2 separate regions of the Homo sapiens genome follow, and region 1 is linked to region 2. The links are contacts of gene promoters, found by promoter capture Hi-C in human tissues and cell types (Jung and others, 2019). All regions are on one chromosome and are shown on one strand. Each heading gives the region's core, a stretch centred on a gene start or on the middle of the fragment in contact. The rest is flanking DNA. Distances are from core to core; before and after follow the strand shown. Region 1 holds the start of MIR635 (microRNA 635). Region 2 holds the start of C17orf58 (chromosome 17 open reading frame 58).

Region 1 (4,183 bases), core at 1,404-3,903, 430 kb before region 2:
ACTTGCAATCCCAGCTACTCCGGAGGCTGAGGCAGGAGAATTGCTTGAACCAGAGAGGCGGAGATTGCAGTGAGCTGAGATCATACCACTGCACTCCAGCCTGGGTGAAAGAGTGAGACTCTGTTTCAAAAAATAAAAACTAAACTAAAATTTCCAAAGAGCCTGTAGTCCTAGCCACTCAGGAAGTTAAATTGAGGCAGAAGGATCCCTTAGGCTCAGGAGTTCGAGACCAGCCTGGGCAACATACTGAGACCCTACCTCAACAAAGAAAAATTCAAAGAGGTAGGATGCCTCAGGCATCTGAAGTGGAAAGGCAGGTCAGGCTTAAAGATGGCAGATGGTGAGGATTATGACTTGTCCTAGGCACAGTACCTCCAGGGGGAAGACAGACAGCCCCTTTGCTTCCTTTGCCCTTTATTTGAGCCCCCGCTCCCCACCCGCCAGGTCATGGCATAAAAGCAGATCCCCAGTGCTTGTTTCATGTCTCTTTCTTGGTTTCCAGGTTATTCTGAGGACGGCGGGGCGCTGCGAGGAGAAGTTATTCCTGAACATGAGTTTGCGACGGGACCAGTGTGTCTTGATGATGAGAATGAGTTTCCTCCTGTGAGCATTAGGAACCCGTAACTGGGCGGCTCAGTCTGTGTGCTTAGAAGGAAACCTTCGCCTCATACGAGAGGCAGAGTCCCTTTCCCTGTTTTCTAATCTATAACAACTAATTCTCTGCTCTAGTATTTGGAAAGCCATAGGATATTTGTTGTACTGTGTGCTTCGAATCCTACAGAGTAGGCTTTAGGTGTCGAGCTAAACCCTGATGGCATTAGAGTCACCGAATACTAATCCAGGGAGTCTTGGTGGCCTCCCTCCAGCCAGAGGCCTGCGATCCCTTACTTTGCTTCTGTAGCACTGACTTTGCTGCCTGGAAGGTAGGAACACGTGACTTGTCTAAAACTTATTTTCCTGAGGCTCCCATGGATGCGTTTGCAGAATGCTGCCTTCCTTGTGCTGGAGGGGATGGTTTCAGAGGGCTGGGCTGTGTGTTCAGGACTCTGAGCTGAGTTGCTGCACTCTGTGAACCAGCTTGACCCTCACTTACCTGCAGCTCTGGCCGGCAGACCCGCACCTCCCCAGCAGTTGCAGACACTCATTAAGAAACAAGTGGCCGGGTGCGGTGGCTCACACCTGTAATCCCAGCACTTTGGGAGGCCGAGGCTGGAGGATTGCTTGAGCCCAGGAGTTAGAGACCAGCCTGGGCAACACAGCAAAACCCCATCTCCACCAAAAAAAAAAAAAAAAAAGAAAAGAAAAAATTAGCCGGGTGTGGTGTCACGTGCCTGTAGTCCCAGCTATTCGGGACGCTGAGATGGGAGGATCACCTGAGCCTGGGAGGTCGAGGCTGCAGTGAGCTCTGATTGTGCCACTGCACTCCAGCCTAGGTGAAAGAGTGAGACTCTATCTCAAAAAGAAAAGAAAAGCAATTGTGTGCTCTGTGGAGGGCAGCAGGTGCAGGGCAGGAGCTTGCCCGAGCACCTTTAGCTGGGTTTCCCAGCAACCTGCTCAGCCTGTTCCCACAGCTAGGGCCCTCGGGGCTGGCTGAGTGCTGGGCGTGGCTTCTTCCATCACCTGGAACTGAAGACAAGATTCCCTCCTGAGAGCCTGCTGGGGCTTCCTTAACTGCTGATTCTTCAGGCTCCCATCTGGAGTAACATATAGACCGCTCTTGTGAGCTTCAGTCAAAACATCCCAGATAGTCAACCTGAAATCATTTCGAGATGGAAGTACTGATTTGTTTTGTTTTGTTTTTGAGACGGAGTCTTGCTCTGTCACCCAGGCTGGAGTGCAGTGGTGTGATCTCGGCTCGCTGCAGCCTCTGCCTCCTGGGTTCAAGCAATTCTCCTGCCTCAGCCTCCCGAGTAGCTGCAATTACAGATGTGCGCCACCATGCCCAACTAATATTTTGTATTTTTAGTAGAGACGGGGTTTCACCATGTTGGTCACGCTGGTCTCAAACTCCTGACCTCAAGTGATCCACTCGTCTCGGCCTCCCAAAGTGCTAGGATTACAGGCGTGAACCGCCGCACCCGGCCGGAAGTAGTGTTTGGGCCAAGACTTGGAGCATCAGCTCCTAGAGCCAGAGAGGAGCTGCCACTTGGGCACTGAAACAATGTCCATTAGGCTTTGTTATGGAAACTTCTCCTGATCATTGTTTTGTGTCCATTGAGCTTCCAATTGTAAAAGGATGGAGTGCAGGTCTGGCTTCTTTCTCCCGCAGATCCGTGGAACCCTCTAGTGAGCACATTTGGCTTAGAAAACAAAGCTGCGGTGGGGCCCTGCATGCAGGGCTGGGGCTGTTGTTTTGTGATTTCCCACATCGGCTCTGCGGGTCGGTCGCAGCGTGAGCTTTTACATTTCTGGCTTTCAATAGGCAGGTTGTCAGAGACGTGGCTGGCAAGTGAAGTTTATATCTCAGTGGCGGAGAGCAGTTGTTCTTAAAAATACTAATTATAAACTTCAAAACCTCTGTTGGCATGCTGCCTAACTATAAACCAGTTGTTTTACCTTTGGGTTCTCATGGCCCCAACTGGCCTTAAAGGGCGTTCTTCTGCACCCTCAAGAGGCGGTGGTTATTTACCTGAAGTCGAGGCTTCCAGGATCCAGAGCACTCTAGGTCAGACACCGTGGGGACAAATGTGACCATTCTACTCTGTCAGGGTTTACCACATCCAGACACTCACTAGGTTCCGTTTCACTAATTTTGGTAAAAGTCTGTAACTACTATAAAATATTATTAGATTCTTAATTGTAATCGCAGTAAGCCTTGCAACCTCTTATAGTTACAGAATTGGGGTAATGTGGATATTAGTATCTAGGAGGTAGTTCCTTGCCAAAGAACCTGTATAAAATAATAGGTACCTTGTGCAGATCATTTATTTGGGGTAAAAAGGAAAAGGGGAGGTGCTTAATTGAAGAACCAGTAAGAAAGTTTGTCCTGAGGCCTGTGTGCCCATTCAGTGCCAGGAAGCTGGGCATGAGCCAGTTGTTTCTTCTCCCTCCTAAGGACCAAATGAGTGAAAGTTGGTTGAAATTGCATCAGGAATTCTTATTTATACGCAAGAAATACTTCCTGCCAGTGAGAGTGGTCACTGAACAAGGTCCCTAGAACAGGTGTTAGACCCTTGTGAGTGTCAAGCAGCCCCTGTGTGCAGGGCTGTGTCGTGGCAGCCACCAACCTCTCAGTCTGCCCTCCAGCCTGCAGGTAGATGGTGATGAGGGGCAGTGCTCCCACTAAGGCACTGTCTCAGTAGCAGGCAGGCTTCTCCATCTCACCATGTAAGGACCAGAGGCATGCATGCTCCTGGGATGCTCTATCAATATGGCCCATCTCAGTCATGCCTGAATTGGCAGAAATGTTCAGCGAGGGATGCTAGGGAACTTCCTCTCTGTCTCCTTATTCTGAATTGTCATGCCTATTGCAAATCTCTGTGCAGAATTCACATCTTTACTCACATTCCTTAAAATCTTCTAGGACCACAAAAGGCTCTTGGAGTCTCAGCTTGGTTAAAATCGCCTCTCTTGTAGTGACGAACAAACATAGGCTTGCCTGAGTAGTCTGCTACAGGAGCTCTGTGAGCCGCTGCCTTAAGAACGCGGGTCATCACTAGTGATCTTTTCAGAACACATACTGACACTTCCCTGCGTAGGATCACGCTTGCCTCCTTGGGATTTACTTTTGCTCTGAGAGCAGTGAAAGAAAAGAGACTTGATCATTTCTGGTGCCTTAGAAAGCTGCTACATTCGGGAGGATGAGAAGCTTTTGTTTCAGGAACAAGCCAACCTGTACAAGTCTCTGTATTTTGTGAGACTAGTCCCAATCTTGTGAGCAAGAGTCAGGAAATCAGGCCCAAGGGTATAAACTGACCTTCCCTTTTTTTTTTTTTTTTTTTTTTTTGAGATGATAGAGTCTCACTCTGTCCCTCAGGCTAGAATGTGTTGGCGTGATCTCCACTCACTGCAACCTCCACCTCCTAGGTTCAAGTGATTCTAGTGCCTCAGCCTCCCAAGTAGCTGGGGTTTCAGGCATGCTACCATGCCCAGCTAAATTTTGTATTTTTAGTAGAGACAGGATTTCACCATGTTGGCCAGGCTGGTCTCAAACTCCTGACCTCAGGTGATCACCCCCCTCAGC
Region 2 (4,179 bases), core at 1,372-3,871:
CCATGTTGGTCAGGCTGGTCTCAAACTCCTGACCTCAGGTGATCCGCCCACCTCAGCCTCCCAAAGGGCTGAGATTACAGGCGTGAGCCACCGCGCCTGGCCCATTAGTGTGATTTCTAAGGCTCAAGCCAGACACTGCCCAAGACCCAGGACTGGACTCTGGCAGGTTCTTCCAGCTGGTGCCACCCCAGGAGCCTCTGGGAGCCCCTGGGAGCCATCCAGCCTGCTCCCTGCCTCTACATTTCAGGGTGTGGGTTTCAGGGCATTCACAACATTCCTGCAACAGAAGAGTTTCGGGAACACCCCCAATAGGTTCTGGGTGATTTGAATGTAATGGTAAGAAGGTATGTTAGAGATGTGGTTGTAACTGAGAAATCTTAAGCCTAGTGAATTTTATTCCACTTGACTTAAAGAAAGAGCACGTGAAAGAAGGGGATCTGAGGACATCTATAAACAGGGCCCCAAGGGCATGAATTTACTAGTGTTTATCTGGTCTTGTCTAGGGTCTGGAGACCCTGACTCTGGTATACCCAAGCTTTGCAGGGGCTGTAGAGGTTTACTCTTTTGGATGGAGAATATAATTCACTCCTCTAACACCTGAATGAGGGAAGATTAGCTCATCTCCTTAGCTGCAATTTGATTTAATGCTCAACAGGCAAATTTCTTTTCTTTTTTTTCTTTTTCTTTTTCTTTTTTTTTTTTTTTTTTTGAGACAGAGTCCTGTGCTGTTGCCCAGGCTGGAGTGTAGTGGCGCAGTCTTGGCTCACTGCAACTTCTGCCTCCTGGGTTCAAGCGATTCTCCTCCCTCAGCCTCCCAAGTAGCTGGGATTACAGGTGCCCGCCACCATGACTCGCTAATTTTTGTATTTTTAGTAGATATGGGGTTTTACTATGTTGGCCAGGCTGGTCTCGAACTCCTGACCTCGTGATCTGCCCACCTTGGCCTCCCAGAGTGTTGGGATTACAGGTTGAGCCACCGCACCCAGCCAGCAAATTTATTTTCTTTGATTTAATGCTCAACAGGCAAACTTCTTTCCTCCTCCTCCTCCTCTTCCTCCTCTCCTTCTTTTTTTTTTTTTTTTTTTTTTTTGAGACAGAGTCTCACTCTGTCACCCAGGCTGGAGGGCAGGGCAGTGGCGCCACACTGCAAGCTCCGCCTCCCAGGTTCACGCCAGTCTCCTGCCTCAGCCTCCTGAGTAGCTGGGACTACAGGCGCCCGCCACCACGCCCGGCTAATTTTTTGTATTTTCAGTAGAGACGGGGTTTCACTGTGTCAGCCAGGATGGTCTGGATCTCCTGGCCTCGTGATCGACCCACCTTGTCCTCCCAAAGTGCTGGGATTACAGGCGTGAGCCACCACACCTGGCCCTGCTCTCCTTCTTCTTCTTCTTCGTTCTCCTCCTCCTCCTCTTTTTTTTTTTCTTTTTGAGACAAAAGTCTCACTCTATCACCCAGGCTGGAGTGCAATGGCATAGTCTCAGCTCACTGCAACCTTTGCCTCCCAGGTTCAAGCGATTCTCCTGCCTCAGCCTCCTGAGTAGCTGGGACTACAGGTGTGTGCCACCACACCCTGCTAACTTTTTTGTAATTTTAGTAGAGACAGGGTTGCACTAATTTGGCCAGGCTGGTCTTGAACTCCTGACCTCGTGATCCGCCTGCCTTGGCCTCCCAAAATGCTGGGATTACAGGCGTGAGCCACTGTGCCTGGCTCCTCCTCTTTCTTTTCTTTCTTCTTCTTCTTCTTCTTCTTTTTTTTTTTTTTTTTTTTTTGAGACAGGGCCTCTCTCTGTCACCCAGGCTGGAGTGCAGTGGCACAATCTCGGCTCACTGCAACCTCCACCTCCTAGGCTCAAGTGATCCTCCCACCTCAGCCTCCCAAGTGGCTGGGACCACAGATGCGAGCCACCATGCCTGGCTAATTTTTGTATTTTTTGTAGAGACAGGTTCTCTCCATGTTGCTCAGGCTGGTCTTGAACTCCTGAGCTCAAGAGATCCTCCTGTCTCGGGCTCCCAAAGTACTGGGATTACAGGCATGAACCACCCTGCCTGGCCTCAACAGGCAACATTCTGATTAATAATTAGACCTCTGGGCCCGGCGTGGTGGCTCATGCTGTAATCCCAGCACTTTGGGAGGCCAAGGTGGGTGGATCACTTGAGGTCAGGAGTTTGAGACCAGCCTGGCCAACACGGTGAAATCCCGTCTCTGCTAAAAATACAAAAATTAGCCTCGCATGGTGGCATATGCCTGTAATCCCAGCTACTTGAGAGGCTGAGGCACGAGAATCGCTTTAGTCCGGGAGGCAGAGGTTACAATGAGCTGTGATATATAATGAAACAGTTTTACTAAGGAAGCAGTGACTTGGTTTCTCTAGAAATTGCCTAACACACACATTCCAGGATACATTCTCTGTCATCTGGAATCTCCCTTCCACAAACCCACGCTGTCTTAAGCACTATTTTCCTATTTGTTGTTGACCTAATCTAGAAAAAAGCTCCCGTCACTCGTTCTCCCCCACCCAGTCCCTCAGTCCCGAAACACGCTTATTCTCTGCACTTGTCACCCCACCCTTTGCTGCCCCCACCCCAGCGCGCAAACGCACACAGGTTTAAAGTTTAGGCTGTGATGCTCTCCTCGCCCGCAGATCACAGGACAGACATTCCCGGGGACAACTTTGCAAGGCCATGTGCTCGTCCTCCTTAGGAAGGAAGAGGGAGAAATCCCTGCGGCTCGGTTTTGTTCCAATGGTCTGCTCAGCGAGTGATTCCCGTTTCCCCAAAGGCTGCCCCTCATTAGCATGAACGGGGGTGGGGGTGTGGAGAAGGGGTTGGGGGAGAGAAAGCAAGCAAAAGACCAGGCTCACTTTTAGAGCCTGGGAACCCTGTCTGCAAAAATGACAGCTAGAGCTTTCTGGCTCCTCTGTTTGATCGTCGGATCATCCCCCGAAGCACCGGTGGCGGAGAGAAAAAGTAAGATTGGTGTAGTGCGGGGCCCTGGGAGCGGAGCGGGGATCTGTGGGGGGGAGCTGGGAAGGAGGCTCAGTGAAACGTGGGACGAGGAGGGGGGTCAGAGCTCGCAAGAGAGGACACCCCGGGTCTGCGTTCGTCTTATAAAGGAGCAAAGTGTGTCCCCAAGGTTTCGTGTCTCTTGGCAGCCTTTTCGGAAAGAAGCCAATTTAGCTACTGAAATGATCCCGAGCAAGCCGGGCAGGCTGGGGAAAACTTTGCATGTTAAGTAGTTGCTCCATCACGGAGGAGGGAAAGTGTCAAAAGGGGTCGTGGCGCGCCTTTCGGGAGCCGTGCCCGGGCCGGGCTCGCAGGACGCCGCGGGGTCCGCCCCCCTCGACTGGGTGAGCAGGGGCTGCGGGGGGCGCTGTGGAGGGCTGGGGGGAAGCGGGGCCGAAATCCGGCAGCCCCGGGCACTTTGCTCTCCCCGCAGCCCCAGCGCACAACCTTGGGACACCTGAGCCGGGGTTTAACTAACACGCACACACTCTTATACTTCATGCACGAAATGAAATTAAGTTACTCAGCCCGTGAAGAAATGAGGGGTTCTCTGGGGGATCGTGTTTTTGTTTTGCTTTTATTTGGATGTTCTGTCGGCTTCGCTATCTCTGGGAAAAACAGTTTCCGTACCTCACAGGGCAATTTACTCTGGGTTATTTTTCCACATGGAAATTGAATGACTTCAGTGGCATTTAACCCAAATATCAGACAATCTTTCCCATGACAACAGATGGTTATATCAATGGGGAAGCAGTTGTGAGGTCAACAGTTGACAGTCAGGAATTGGATATCCACCAGAACTTTATTCAGCTGTGCATGGCACAACCGTTTAACAACATAATGAGTCAGAATCAACCTCTTTGCAAAAACATGAACTCTAACCAGCTATTATTGCTGGGTGAAAGCTGATTTTAAAGCAGATTATCGATTTGGCAAGACTGATCAACTTTAAATGAAGTGTTGCCAGAGCTGCAAATGGGCAGATCCATCTCTTTAATGCAAGGGGAGAGAAAAATAAAGGCTAGTTCTTGCCTGTTTGGAGGGCACTGGGACCCAGGCAAGCAAGGAGGTGAAATTGTGTAACTGGTATGGAAAGGTGCCCAGCTCCCAAGCTGGCTGAGGTTTACTCACCAACCTGTCTGCAGAACTAGGGAAAATCATTAATAATTTTAAAAA

What was found. Contacts are between HindIII fragments. The study calls those that stand out against the background at their distance.
Region 1: a contact is called between a fragment that was not itself captured here and the fragment with the promoter of C17orf58 in region 2, in 1 of the 25 tissues and cell types used here (pancreas).

Annotation. Positions count from the first base shown.
Region 1 is chr17:68,422,495-68,426,677 of GRCh38, reverse strand. It overlaps WIPI1 (WD repeat domain, phosphoinositide interacting 1), which reads left to right. Exons shown (of 13, transcript NM_017983.7): 12 at 503-603. It overlaps MIR635 (microRNA 635), which reads left to right and starts at 2,130; the gene lies at 2,130-2,227. It also overlaps a transcript of ARSG not described here and a transcript of PRKAR1A not described here. The HindIII fragment of the contact is 3,571 bases long and covers 868-4,183 here.
Region 2 is chr17:67,994,911-67,999,089 of GRCh38, reverse strand. It overlaps C17orf58 (chromosome 17 open reading frame 58), which reads left to right and starts at 2,621. Exons shown (of 4, transcript NM_001382359.1): 1 at 2,621-2,967. The coding sequence starts at 2,892. RefSeq lists a silencer at 3,302-3,391. The HindIII fragment of the contact is 9,773 bases long and covers 2,416-4,179 here.